Linked DNA regions of Homo sapiens: regions 1 and 2 are each linked to region 3. The links are contacts of gene promoters, found by promoter capture Hi-C in blood cells and fetal thymus (Javierre and others, 2016). All regions are on one chromosome and are shown on one strand. Each heading gives the region's core, a stretch centred on a gene start or on the middle of the fragment in contact. The rest is flanking DNA. Distances are from core to core; before and after follow the strand shown. Region 1 has its middle 22 kb from the start of ZCCHC13. Region 2 has its middle 39 kb from the start of ZCCHC13. Region 3 holds the start of CITED1 (Cbp/p300 interacting transactivator with Glu/Asp rich carboxy-terminal domain 1).

What was found. Contacts are between HindIII fragments. The CHiCAGO score rates a contact against its expected background, and 5 or more counts as called.
Region 1: a fragment that was not itself captured here is called in contact with the fragment with the promoter of CITED1 in region 3 in 1 of 17 cell types (neutrophils); the score reaches 6.9 in neutrophils.
Region 2: a contact is called between a fragment that was not itself captured here and the fragment with the promoter of CITED1 in region 3, in 1 of 17 cell types (non-activated CD4 T cells). The highest score is 5.9, in non-activated CD4 T cells.

What each region holds. Positions count from the first base shown.
Region 1 is chrX:74,323,644-74,328,041 of GRCh38, forward strand. No RefSeq gene overlaps it. Among named protein-coding and RNA genes, the nearest start is that of ZCCHC13, 22 kb to the left of the region's middle. RefSeq lists enhancers at 1,351-2,116, 2,117-2,883. The HindIII fragment of the contact is 1,605 bases long and covers 1,936-3,540 here.
Region 2 is chrX:74,341,178-74,345,504 of GRCh38, forward strand. No RefSeq gene overlaps it. Among named protein-coding and RNA genes, the nearest start is that of ZCCHC13, 39 kb to the left of the region's middle. The HindIII fragment of the contact is 1,461 bases long and covers 1,546-3,006 here.
Region 3 is chrX:72,303,080-72,307,504 of GRCh38, forward strand. CITED1 (Cbp/p300 interacting transactivator with Glu/Asp rich carboxy-terminal domain 1) reads right to left here and starts at 2,835. Exons shown (of 3, transcript NM_001144887.2): 1 at 2,746-2,835. LOC105373250 (a long non-coding RNA gene) reads left to right here and starts at 3,023. Exons shown (of 3, transcript XR_938441.2): 1 at 3,023-3,141. RefSeq lists a silencer at 3,820-4,114 and an enhancer at 3,841-3,890. The HindIII fragment of the contact is 8,247 bases long and covers 1-4,425 here.

The DNA of each region.
Region 1 (4,398 bases), core at 1,488-3,987, 2.0 Mb after region 3:
GCTCACAGGGGTCTCAGGAAGAGTCTGCAGGTCCATGGTTTCCAGAACAATCCTAGTTCCTTGTAATTTCATGATATTCCTGAAGAGGAACTCATAGATTAATGTGTGGACTTTATTTACATCCTGACTACAAAAAGTGGAAAAAACACCATAACATAAACCCTCCATAACATTGATGAGACATGAGACATTTAAAGTTTGGACATTCCCTGGGTATTTGACGATATTATGGAATGATTACTAATTACTTTAAGTGTTATAATAACACTGTAGTTATGCTAAAAGGGGTTCTTATCTTTCAGAGCTCCATATTGAAATACTTATGCATCCAATGATGTGTGACTGGCCAGGTGCTGATAATCGCTGAAGCTGGATGCTGTGTACAGGAGGGGTCACTATGTCCTTCCACTTGTGTATAGACTTGAAATTTTCCATAACGACAAGTTTTAAATATGAAATAGTGAAGTGTGGAGCAGTTTACCTAACTGTGGCATATCTGTCCTTTGGAAGACTTTTCAAATAGACATAACGCTGGCAAATGTAAGAAAAGCCTTGTATGCAATGTGTGAGCACCAGTGGTATTGCCGATGGGTGCTTGTGACTGGAGACAGCAACTGCACCCTCTCATTTCAGCCCCTCATTGAACAGCGTCTGTGCTGCTCCTCTCAGCCTATGGCAGCTGGTTTGGTTGCCAGGCAATGGAAGGCAGAGACCAGAAGACCTTTTCTTGGGAGGAAGAAAGGGGAGAGGGAGGGGAGAAGCAAGAAAGAAGCTCACAGCCCGAAGGCTTGCTCCCTCCTGAGAGTCTGGCCCAGGGCTGGGGGAATGGGAATGGGGGTAAAGTCCTCACAACCCCTACTTTCCGTGGTTTACTCCTGGTGGACAGCCCCACTTTCAGAGCTTGAAGCCCCAGAGAGACGGAGAGGGAATGCACGCACCTGCACCTCCTGTGAAGGTCAGAGAAATCTGTGACTAAGGAAGATGCCAATTAGCACCAGTCCACAGAGTTAGAGCTCTGGACAGACCTCTCCTGGGTACTTCTAAACTCTTGTTATTTCAAAAATTCTAGGAAAGCAGCTCGTCAAATGGAAAAATCTGCATTGGCGATCACCCTGAGCTCGGGCCATCCCAGAAGGCAAGATGGCTGGGGTCTTCTTAGGCAGTGGAGAAATGTGTTCTTGGTGTCCTTTGGGGAGGGGAAGCAGAAGCCTCTGGCACTGCACGGTGGGCTGGCAGTCTCATGGATGCTGACTATGTTGGGGAGCCCCACGTTCTGGCATTGCTTCAGAATCAGCTGTCACCGAAGGGCTGTGTGGGCCCGAGCCAGTCCTTACTCTCAGTTTCCTGATCTCTAGGAGGGAATGATATGGTCTCTCTTCACTCTCAAATGTACTGGATTATGACACACTCCCCCACCTACATCCTGGGCAGGAATCGCTCTCACCCAGGGTTATAGGAGCCTGTGTGGCACACCCTACTCTCACCCACCAGGCCAGACTGAAGAAACCAACATAGCTGGTTACCTCTCTCCCTCTTAAGTGGGGGCACTTCCCAGAGCCACCAAGTTGTGATCATGAGCTGCCTCCTGGTGGCCTGGGAGGTGAGATTCAGAGGGGCTCCAGGCAGGCAGGTTGGGGGTGAGGTCAGCAGCTGCCCCAGAGATCAGCTTTTCAAGAACAGGCATCTGAGACAGAGTGTCTGTGCTGGATGAGGAAAATATTGGGAAGGCCAGCTGTCTATAGCTGAGCAAGAGCAGGGTCCAGACAGCCCCCTCTTTCTGCAGCATCTTTGTGGCTCCTGGTTGCTAGGAGCAGGTGCTTCTGTTACTAAGCAACAGGAGCCTGTTGGATGAAAACCAATTTCCTGAGCTCTCTAAAAGGGGGAGGGAGAGGAGGTGGAATACAGATGGTCTAGGGAATATCAGGTTTGCCCTCAAGCTTAACTGGAGGTTGGGGGTGGAGGGTGAATATGCACCAGGTACTTAGTATAAAGACTGAGAGACAGACTGGCAATTAAGATGCTGATTAGAGCAGTAAAGAATGCTAATGCTGCTCCTTTGCAAAACCCCAGGAAAGGCCTCTGGTCCCTGGGGGTGTTTCTGAACTCTTATTATGTCAAAAATCCTAGGAATCACCTGACTTGGCTAGACAAAACTGAGCAGAGTTCCTTCTCCAAATACAGAGGATCAATGCATTTTAGGGTCAATGGGCCCCCAAGTGTCCTGGAGTTTAACCACTGGCTGAATGACAAAGGACCCTCCGTCTCTGCTTAGATATTCTCTTTGATGACCGGGTGCTTACTTCCTCCTGAGGCAGGCCTTTCTGTATCTCCGCCCCGCACCCCTCCCCCCCCAAACCCCCCCGCCCCGCCCCGGCCCCTGAGCAGGCGGAGTCTCGCTCTTGTCACCCAGACTGGAGTGCAGTGGCGTGATCTTGGCTCACTGCAACCTCCGCCTCCCGGGTTCAAGCAATTCTCCTGCCTCAGCCTCCCAAGTAGCTGGGATTACAGGCACGAACCCAGCTAATTTTTGTACTTTTAGTAGAAATGGGGTTTCACCATGTTGGCCAGGCTGGTCTCGAGCTTCTTACCTCGTGATCCGCCCGCCTTGGCCTCCCAAAGTGATGGGTTACAGGCGTAAGCCACTGCGCCCAGCCCCTTTCTGTTTCTTATCAGTAGAAAGTACTTTTTTCTGTGGAATCCAAGTCAGTCTCCTTGTGGCTCCTTCCTGCAAGGGGCATAGGGAGGAAGGAGCGAGTAAGGGGAGGAGGGCAGCTACTCCAATCTGCTTTGCTATAGAGATCTGTAACCTCTACTTTCTGTGACCCCCTAACCCCCATCACTAGCCACCTCTCAGGGGACAGCCCTCACCACAGTTTGCAGGCCTCTGATCCCCTACTTTCCACTTGGTCTTTATGTGCATAGGGATATATTGTAATCTCCTTAAAGAGTGAACTGCTACTTTTGATGAATTTGCAGAGTCCAGGACACAATTCTTGTCTCAGACTTCTTTCACTGCCCTGCTCAGACAGGGACCTCCTGGCTCAAGACCATGTCAGTGGACAGGTGTTTCTCCTTCTAGTGGGGTTTCTGTTTTCAGGAGGACCGGCTGGGTCAGGAGGAGAAGGCAAGGGGTCCTCTCCATGCTAAGTATTGGTCTTTGATCCTGAAGGTCTTCAGGTCTTGGATCCTGATTTCTGAGCAGGACTCTTCCCTGCTCTTGTGCCTGTCTAGGCTTTGGCAAGCTCAGCCCAGGTGGCAGACCACTTTCCCTCTGCACGTACCCCACAGTGATCAAGGATACATTCAGTTTGGCTGAACAAACATTTTATATTTTTCTATAACACTTTCTATGATTTAACATATGTTTTACCTTTTTGTTTTGGTTCTTTTCCTTCCAACTATGACACAATGTCCATGAGGGATGAGATATTTCTGTGTTTTGTTAATTGCTGTATTTCAGTGTGTAGAACAAGTGTGGCGCCTAGTAGGTGCTCAAGAAATATATGTTGAATAATGAATATATGCTTACATATGTAAATAAGCTTTTTATATTGTTGGGACTCAGAAAAAAATTACCCCAAATGAAGGCCTCAGGTGCTGGGAAAACTGGCTATCCATATGCAAAAGAATGAAACTGAACCTCTATCTCTCGCCATATACAAAAATCAAATCAAAATGGATTAAAGACTTAACTGTAAGACCTCAAACTATGAAACTACTTAAAAAAAAAAGCCACTGGGGCCGGGCACGATGGCTCACGCCTGTAATCCCAGCACTTTGGAGGCCAAGGCGGGTGGATCATCTGAGATCAGGAGTTCAAGATCAGCCTGGCCAATATGGTGCGATCACATCTCTACCAAAAATCCAAAAATTAGCTGGGTATGTGTGGTGGCAGACACCTGTAATCCCAGCTACTCCGGAGGCTGAGGCAGGAGAATCACCTGAATCTGGGAGACGGAGATCTCAATGAGCAGAGATTGCACCATTGCACTCCAGCCTGGGCGACATGAGCGAGACTCCTTCTCAAAAACAAAACAAAACAAACACAAACAAACCAACAAAAAACCATTGGAGAACTCTCTGGAACATTGGACTGGGTAAAGATTTCTTTTCTGTTTTTGTTTGAAACGGAATCTCGCTCTGTCGCCCAGGCTGGAGTGCAGTGGCAGGATCTCGGCTCACTGCAACCTCCGCCTCCCGGGTTCAAGCGTTTCTCCTGCCTCAGCCTCCCGAGTAGCTGGGAGTTCAGGCGCATGCCACCACATCTGGCTAATTTTTTGTATTTTTAGTAGAGACGGGGTTTCACCTTATTAGCCAGGAAGGTCTAATATTTGATAGCACAACAGGGTGACTGTAGTCAACAATAATTTCATTGTACATTTTAAAACAATTAAAAGA
Region 2 (4,327 bases), core at 1,026-3,525, 2.0 Mb after region 3:
TAGAGGCTTTCTAACATCCATGTGAACTAAAATATCACATTGTAAACTAATTCTCAATCTTTTAGAGTTATCCCAGCTTCTCCAACAGATTTCTGTAATTCATTGTGGTGTGCATACCAGACACAGTAAAACGTCTAAAGAAATTTAATTTGCACACCAAGCTGTGAAAAAGGCTACTAAAGTTTTGACTGGAGAAATTTAATCACCATTACTTATATCCGGGGATTCCTATTCACAATTTCAGAAACGTGCAACTTCACAAGATTTAGAAAATTGGAAACCAAGGGTATCTAAGAACACCATAGGGCTTTGGGAATTATACAATAAAATTATTCCTGCACTTCAATTGTTGTACCTTGGATGCCTTTTTCATATTGTCAACAAACTAATTTAAACAAAAGAAATATACTGAACACCTTGGAATCTTATCACACTTGGAATAAAGATCAAATAATTCAGGATATAATACAAAGGTATGTTGCTTGTCAGAAAAATTGTTTACAGGGGGCACATAAGGAAGCTAAGGAAGCCTACTGAAGGCATTATTACCTGGAATCTGGTAGCAAACGGATTTTATAGAGTTTCCGTCCTCAGAAGGTAAGAGATATTGATTAGAATAATTGTATATGATGTCTGAATTACTGGAAGTGCTCCTATCAGCTAAAGCAGATGCTCAAACAGTGATCAAGGCCTTACTGAATTTTATCATCTCAACCTTTGGAATTCTAAATATCTGGAATCTGTTGGGAAAAGCTATTTCATTTCTATGGTAACTTAAGAGCTCTGTAAAAAAAAAAATTGCCAGTAATTTACAATACTCCTTATTATTCCCAGTCTTATGGACAAGAAGAATGAATGAAGCATATTCTAAATAATTTTTTTAAACAAAAGTTTTCACATATTTATTAATGAACCAACCTACTAGTACAGAGCATAGAAATAAAGATAAACATAATTTTCCCCATAAACATGTCCAACTGTCCAGATAGTGATGTTTTCAGTTTTATACAGTAAGATAATTGTGACCTTGATACAGCATAAATATGTGTGCCATCTCATGTTCAATTCCTAATAAGGGAGGAGACCACCCCTCATATTGTCTTATGCCCAATTTCTGCCTCAAAGAAAAAGTAGGAGTTAAAGAAAAGACAGAAGTGAAATCAGTAGTCAGACAGCCTGGTGCTGCATTCCAGGCCTGGTAGTTAAACATCGACCTCTGACCTAACTGGTTATGTTATCTATAGATTCCAGACATTGTATGGAAAAGCATTGTGAAAATCCCTGTCCTGTTCTGTTCCATTCTGATTACCGGTGCATGCAGCCCCCAGTCCCGTATGCCCTGCTTGCTCAATCGATCACAACCCTCTCATGCGGACCCCTCTTAGAGTTATAAGCCCTTAAAAGGGACAGGAATTGCTCACTCAGGGAGCTCAGTTTTTGAGCCGTGAGTCTGCTGACGCTCCCGGCCGAATAAAGCTCCTTCCTTCTTTAACCCGGCGTCTGAGGAGTTTTGTCTGCGGCTTGTCCTGCTACACTTATAGACTAAGCTTGGTTCTTAACCAATGCATCCTCCAGGAGTTTTACTTGATTTTATTACCAGTTTTCATCCAAATCCAGAATGGGATGATTTCATACTTGTTTCTTAGCTAGGAATCACTTGATCCTAAGTGTCTTGTGAGACGACAAGGAAAGGAATAGAGTTGACTGCATATACCGTGATGGAAGAGTAAGGCCATACTCTAAAGAATTTTTTGGCTAAATAATATCAAACCACTGGCTTGTGATAGCCCAGAATCTTATCACACTTTACCATTGATTTTATTAAAAATAAGGTCACCTGTTTCAGCAAGTGTGTTATTTCTCCCTTTGAGTTTTTGTTTGGAAGATTTATAAACTCAGGGTTTAATTCTAACTCCTTATTAGATACAATGGAAAACACTTATGATATCAGATACAGTACTCAGAGGGTTTGCTGGTTCTTTGGCCTCATTACACCATCGCATGGCCAGATCTGAAACAATCCCTCTGAGGAGATGTGTCATTGATATCCACCAGGAAACAATGTCTACAATCAAAGTGTTCCAATGACCAGGAAATAAAGTCTATATCAAAGTGTTTCAATTATAAACTGTATGGCTACTACTGTTATATAATTAAGCTAAAGATTGCCCCCATATTGTTACTTCTTCACAGCAGGCTAGTACCTGTAGCTCAAAAGCCTAAAATTTTTACACATCCAGTTGTTTTAAATATAAATCAACTAAGCAGATTCTGGCAGATTGGCCAGTTACAGCCAGCCTGCTTTACATACTCCACAACACTATACCTAACATCTGCTAGACATTGATAAGACAAACCCTGTATCTATAAAAAACCAAGCTAATGCTGACCTTTGATGCTCTCTAACCCAGAAACTCCCTGATATGGTTTGGATCAGCGTCCCTGCCCAAATCTCATGTTCAATTGTAATCCCCAATTCTGGAGGTGGGGCCTGGTTGCAGGTGATTGGATCATGGAGGTGGTTTCCAGTGGTTTAGCACCATCCTCCTAGTGCTGTCTTGTTATAGAGTTTTCACAAGATCCAGTTGTTTAAAAGTGTGTGGCACTTCCCCAACCCCTCTTCCTCCTGCTCCAGCCATGCAAGACGTGCTTGCTTCCCCTTCTCTTTATGCCATAATTGAAAGTCTCCTGAGCCCTCCCCAGCCATGCTTCCTATGCAGCCTGCAGAACCATGAGTCAATTAAACCTCTTTACTTTATAAATTGCCCAGTCTCAGGTATTTCTTTATAGCAGTGTGAGAATGGACTAATACACTCCCCATCTTGCTGCTGAGTAATATAACCTACACAAATAAACTCTATCTCTGATTCAGCCCTCAGCTTTCCCCTGGGAGTTCCCTTGCCCTTTCCCCTTCTGAGTAATGACCCGGTACAGTTGCCTCTGGATAGTCTCCTGCTGTGAAGGACTTCCTCTCTCAAGCAACCTCTCCAAGTGCCACCCAAACAAAGCTTGTTATGTGCTACTGCCACCTTGTGGTTATCTTTTTTGGCTCAGCCTCAAAATCCTACAAGTGAGTTCTATAGGATCCTGGTGATCAAGCAATTGGGAAGAGGTCTATTCCCATCGGTAGGACAATAAATAGGCAAATTGATCTTGGAAGGCCTTTAAGTGATTGGAATTCAATATTTGGAATACCTCTGCATCAGTTTGGCATGGCATCACTCTTTGCTGTACTTCATTCTATAGTTTTTGTGGTCTCCCTATATACCTCATTCGCCTGGCCAAGTTGTAGCACCAGTATTTTAGTGAACTCACATCATTAGAACTTTTATGGTCAGAAATGCTAAGCTGCCCAGGAAAGATCAGCCAGCCCACCTGGGTCCCTCGCTAGGCAGGTGCTAGAAGTTGTAAGATCCACGGTCCCAAACAGGAAAAGGAGAAGAGTTCATGCTTCTGGACCAAGAGTGGGCTGCCCCTGATCCCATAACAGCTACAGTGAAAGGAGCTCCCTTAGCTCAGCTAAGGATTTGAAGTACTCTGAGATGAGAGGACATCTTTGTCCTTGGGGACCACTATAGTAGGCAAAGGAGCTAATTAATAAGGCAGATGCGTCAGATTAGGGTAGGTCACCTAAATGCAGGTGGGAAAGATGCCTTTGCAAGCAGTTAGTATGCTTCTGCTGATGTGACACAATTATGTTGTTGAGAATGTTGTCACTCTATCCCTTCCTTGGAAGGATGTTGAGATCCCAATTCTTGGGCTGAGCTGGCTAAAGCATTTTCTTTTTTTTCTGGGTTTTTTTTTTTTTTTTTTTTTTTTGAGACGGAGTCTTGCTCTGTCTCCCAGGCTGGAGTGCAGTGGCGCGATCTCGGCTCACTGCAAGCTCCGCCTCCCAGGTTCATGCCATTCTCCTGCCTCAGCCTCCCGAGTAGCTGGGATTACAGGCGCCTGCCACCACACTCGGCTAATTTTTTGTATTTTTGGTAGAGATGGGGTTTCACCGTGCTAGCCAGGATGGTCTCCATCTCCTGACCTCGTGATCCGCCTGCCTTGGCCTCCCAAAGTGCTGGGATTACAGGCGTGAGCCACTGCGCCCATCCTTTTTTTTTTTTTTTTTTTTTTTTTTTTTTTGGTGACAGGGTCTTGTTCTGTTCCCCAGGCTGGAATGCAGTGGTTCCATCTCAGCTCACTGCAACCTCCACCTCCCGAATTCAAGCGATTCTTGTGTCTCCTGAGTAGCTGGGATTACAGGCGTGCACCACCACACCCAGTTAATTTTTGTATTTTTAGTAGAGATGGGGTTTCGCCATGTTGGCCAGGCTGGTCT
Region 3 (4,425 bases), core at 1,585-4,084:
ACAGGGAGGAGATCAAGCTGGAACTTTTGCCTGAGGCAGGAAAGGTGCTTGATTCGGCCAGGTACTGCCCAGGCAGCCACCTACCCATATCACCAAGATGGGACATACTGCTTCCTCATGCAAGTGACTTCACAGTCCCAAGGTGTATGTGTGGGGGTGAGGGTGGCACTGTTCCTGGTTCAGAGGACAGGAATGTCCCTGAGTAAGCAACATATTGTCTCAATGGGCTACTAGCATCCAGGCTGGAGAGTTGGGGCCTCCACTGGGACTGGGAGAATGTGAGAAGAAGTCAGGGCAAGGAAGACCTAGAAAGCTAGAGGCTGCAGCACAGGGAAATAACAAGTCTCTAGCGCAAATGTCATGGAGCTCCAAAGCATGACCTTGGGCATGCCTGTGAGAAGCCAGGCTGATTAGGGTGGTCTGGGGGCTCTGAGGCAGCTGGAGCCAGAGAAGCTAGGAATGTGTCACTTTCCTCCATGTCTCAAGCCCCCTCCAAGACAGCCCCAGCATTGGGCTTTCCTAGGATGCCTACCCCAGAAACCTGAGTCCAGCCATTCCCATCTATAGTGACAAGTGAGGCACAGAGATTCAATGCCTTTTTAGTCAGGTAGCAGCGGTTCTGGGAGCAGAATCTAGCACCCCTATGGCCACATGCCTCACCTGACCACTGGCTAAGTCATCATACCTAGCTGGATTCAAAAGGCTTCCAAAGAAGTGATTTCCTGGCTCAAGTGCCAAAGGATAAGGGAATGAAGGCAAAAGAATACCTCCAAACCAGAAAATAAACAAACCTCTGAAAATCTCAACTTATTTTCCTGGAGGCCTGTTTACAAAGAAGAAAAAAATGTCCCATAGCTAGGCACAGTAGCACCCTCCTGTAGTCTCAGCTACTCAGGAAGCTGAGGTGGGAGGATCACCTGAGCCCTGGAGTTTGATACCAGGCTGGGCAACATAGCGGGACCCTATCTCTTTAAAAAAAAAAAGCCCCATATATTCTAGCTTTCATGATCAATTAGAGATGTAGAATTTCATATTTATAAATACCTCTTGGTCCAAAGAATCTTGAGGACCTTAAAAAGAGTCTCTAATCTTTCCAAGGAGGCTAGAATTCTCCGTGACACTCTCCACTCCGCAGCGGTCATTAAGAATCTGCTCAGACACTTCTAGAAAGTGGCCACTTACTACCTCTCTGTATCATCTTTGCATTGCTTACTTGGGTGGATGGGGGTAGGGGAGGGAAAAAATAGAGAAAGGGGTAAACATTTTTTTAAAAACATGAGGAAAAAATATCAGCTGTTGGGTCCCGCATCATTGCTTGATTGAAGCCCTGCTCCTTCTCTGAGGCAACCGTAGAAAAATATTTCAAAAGCAAGTGATCACCAGACAAGAAGTCTAACACATGTCGTCTTCAAGAGCCCTAGCACAATCAGTATCAGACAATTTTCCTGTCCTAAGAAAAATGTCTGGGGGCCCTGTCCATCTTTTCCTGTTCCTATCCAGCCTTCCCTCTCCTTTTTGCCGCTTGGTACCCGAATGTACAAAACGAAGAAAAAACAACAGGAGCAGCAGCAACAACAGCAAAACCAAAAGAGAAACATTAGAAAAATCAAAAGAGAGAACGAGCAAAAAAACTCTCTCTATTCTGATATCAGTTCGTGGGGGAAGACCATTTTACCGCGCCTCCCTCTTCAATCTGGGAGCTCCCCCAGAAGAGGCCCTGTGTCCATTCAGATCTTCTGCCTTCCATTACTGACCCACCACCCACCCTGACCCCAGCCTGGGTCTGCGCTCAATAGGCGCTCAGTAAGTGTTGTTGAATGCGTCTGAAGAAGCAATCGCATTTCCATCGGCATCCCTGGCTCTGCTTCCCCGGCTTTCTGCCCTCCTCCACCACCCTCTAGCCCGTTCGTGGGCAAAACTTGGCAACGCGGAAACGTCCCAGCCCGCTCTCCAAGCCGCGAGCTGACCACTGCGAAACGGCTGCGACAGGCGGCTGGGAAACCTAGAGCAACAAGTGCCTTCTCGCCGGCTGATGCCTGGCGGCCCCCCGGCCACCAGTTCCCAGTCCCGCTGCCCGCTCTTCGCTTCAGGCCTTCCCTTGGGCGAGCAGCCCCCTCCCGCCTAGACAGGGGTGGGAAGGGGAGAGGGAAAAGAGAAGGGAGAGGCAGGTGGGGGCCTCATCTTTAACCTGTTGGGGGACCAAAAGTTAAAATGGCACCAACCGGATGGTTCCATCTCGATTGCTATTTTCTCACTCAGAAGGAGAAATTTAAAAATCCAAACAGCACTGCGGCTTGGCTTGGACGCGCTCTAACCAGACCAGTCAGTTTCGCCACCTGAAAACTAAAGGCCCGTTGTTTGCGGACAGCTCGGCTGCCCTCCTCGCCGCATCCCAGATGGAGCCGCGGAACCGGGGGCGGCCGGGAGCATCCCTTGCACGGCGGGCGCGTGCACCCAGGCCACCGGGGCCCTGAGCGTCCGTTCCCGCAAGTGCTGTATCAGGAACTGATCTTAGAGACAGGATGGACAGGCAGGAAGGGGCACGGGGTGTCGGCCTCCGCGGCGAGTCCGCACTCCGGCGCCGGCTGCTGCCACTCTCGCGCCTGATCAACACTTACTGAGCGCCCGCTGAGCATCCGACGCGGCAGCAGGCTGAGCCTACCCCCTAGCCAAGCCGCCTGCGGTCAGTGCTAAAACCCCGCTAGGAGAAGAGTGAGAGAGGCTCGGAGAGGTGCGGTAACTTGCCCAAGGTCACAGCGCTAGAAAGTGGCGGAGCCGGGATTCGCAGCCAGGTCTCTCTGACTCCAAGTCCGGTGCTCTGCGAAGCAGGGACTCGGCGCGCGGCTCGCCAGCCCGCGTTTATAGGGAGAGGGGTGTGCGCGTGGGTGTGTGTGTGTGGGCGTGTGTCGGGGGAGGGGAGGGCTGAGGTCGACTGGGCAGTAGAGGCAAGTTGCCCAAATTCGCTAACTTCCATCCCGCAATTCCGCTGAACTCGGCCCGAAAAGCCCCCTCTTGCCTCAATTCCCCGAAGTAAATCTGAGCTTTGTGCAGCTCCGGAGCCAGAGCGTCCAGATGCGGTCCGGGAGATTAGCAAAGTCGGTGGAAGCCAAGCTGGAGAAAGCGCGGGCGCAGGGAGAAAAGGTGCTGCCGTCTCCCCGGGAGAAGCGGGCACCCGGCCCCGCTGGCCGGCAGGGGGGCGCGCTGGCAAGCGAACCCGAGCGCTGGCGGGCGGGCGGGCGGGCGGCCCCTCGCCCCCAGCAGAGCAGCTTTCCAACAGAAAGCAAGTCTCCCCAGAACCCTCCGGCCCGCCTGGCGGCCGCCCACTCCCCATACCCGCTCCACGGGAGTCCTCGGCCCCGCCGCCCAGCCCGGCGCCCAGCCCGGCGGCCCGGCTTACCTCTGAGAAGCCGCCTGCCCTGGAGAGAGGGAAGCGCGGAGCTCGGTGAGCCGCAAGAGAGGCGGCGGAGCCCCCAGCCCCTGGCACGCACGCCGCCGCCACCGCTACCGCGAACCGGTCGCGCTCAGCGCCCGCGGCCGCGCCGTTGGCCACCCGACCCCGGGGCGCCTGGGAAAAGCCCGCACCGCGCCGCGCCGCCGCTGCACCGCACAGTGCCGCGCCAAGCAGCCCCTGACCGAGCTGGTGCCCGCCCGCCCGCCCGCAGCTTCGGCGCCGGACTCCGGGGCGGTGGCGGTGGCGGCCACCGCGCTCCCTTCCCGGCGCTGGGGACCCGGCTCTCAAGCCCCCATTGCCGCCCGGAGAGCCCTGACGCACACGCACACGGCAGCAGACTGGCCTCGGCTAGGAATCCCAGGAAGGACAGACCCTTTTTTTCCCTTTTTTTTTCTCCCCTCAATTTCCACGTCTTTATAACCGGCTTAGGGCATTATTAGCACATGTCCTGGCTCGTGGGCGAGTTGGTGGCAAAATCTGAACTGGATACTCACGGAGGGCCCGCGCGGGTGCTGTGCCGTCCGCTGCTCTCTTCCTCCTCACCGAGAACTGCCCCTCGCCGGCGGACTACAAGAGGGCAGCCGGGCAGAGCGAGCTTCCTCTCGGCAGCTCAGCGGTGCCCCTTCTGCAGCTTTGCCGCCGGGCACATTTTTATAGCAGCGGCTGGCGTCTGTGGCCCTTTAAAGGCGCTCGAGCTGGTGCAGTCACCGCGGATCGTGTGAAAGCAAAGGGCCGGCTGGGGAACGGAGTCCACGCGGCCACGCGAGTCCGGCAGCCCTGTGGACCGGCCAAGGCTCCCGGGGTGGGGCTGGCGAGTCCGGGCTATGGGCAGCCCTCGCCCGGAGCCCTGGCCAGTGCCCGGCTTCTAAAGCTGTCGGGGGCCAGGGCCCGGGACACCGGCTCTCCCCACCGCCCTGCGTGGACTTGCCCAATAAATTCCACTTAGTAATTTCACTGAGGCAAAGGAGAGCCGT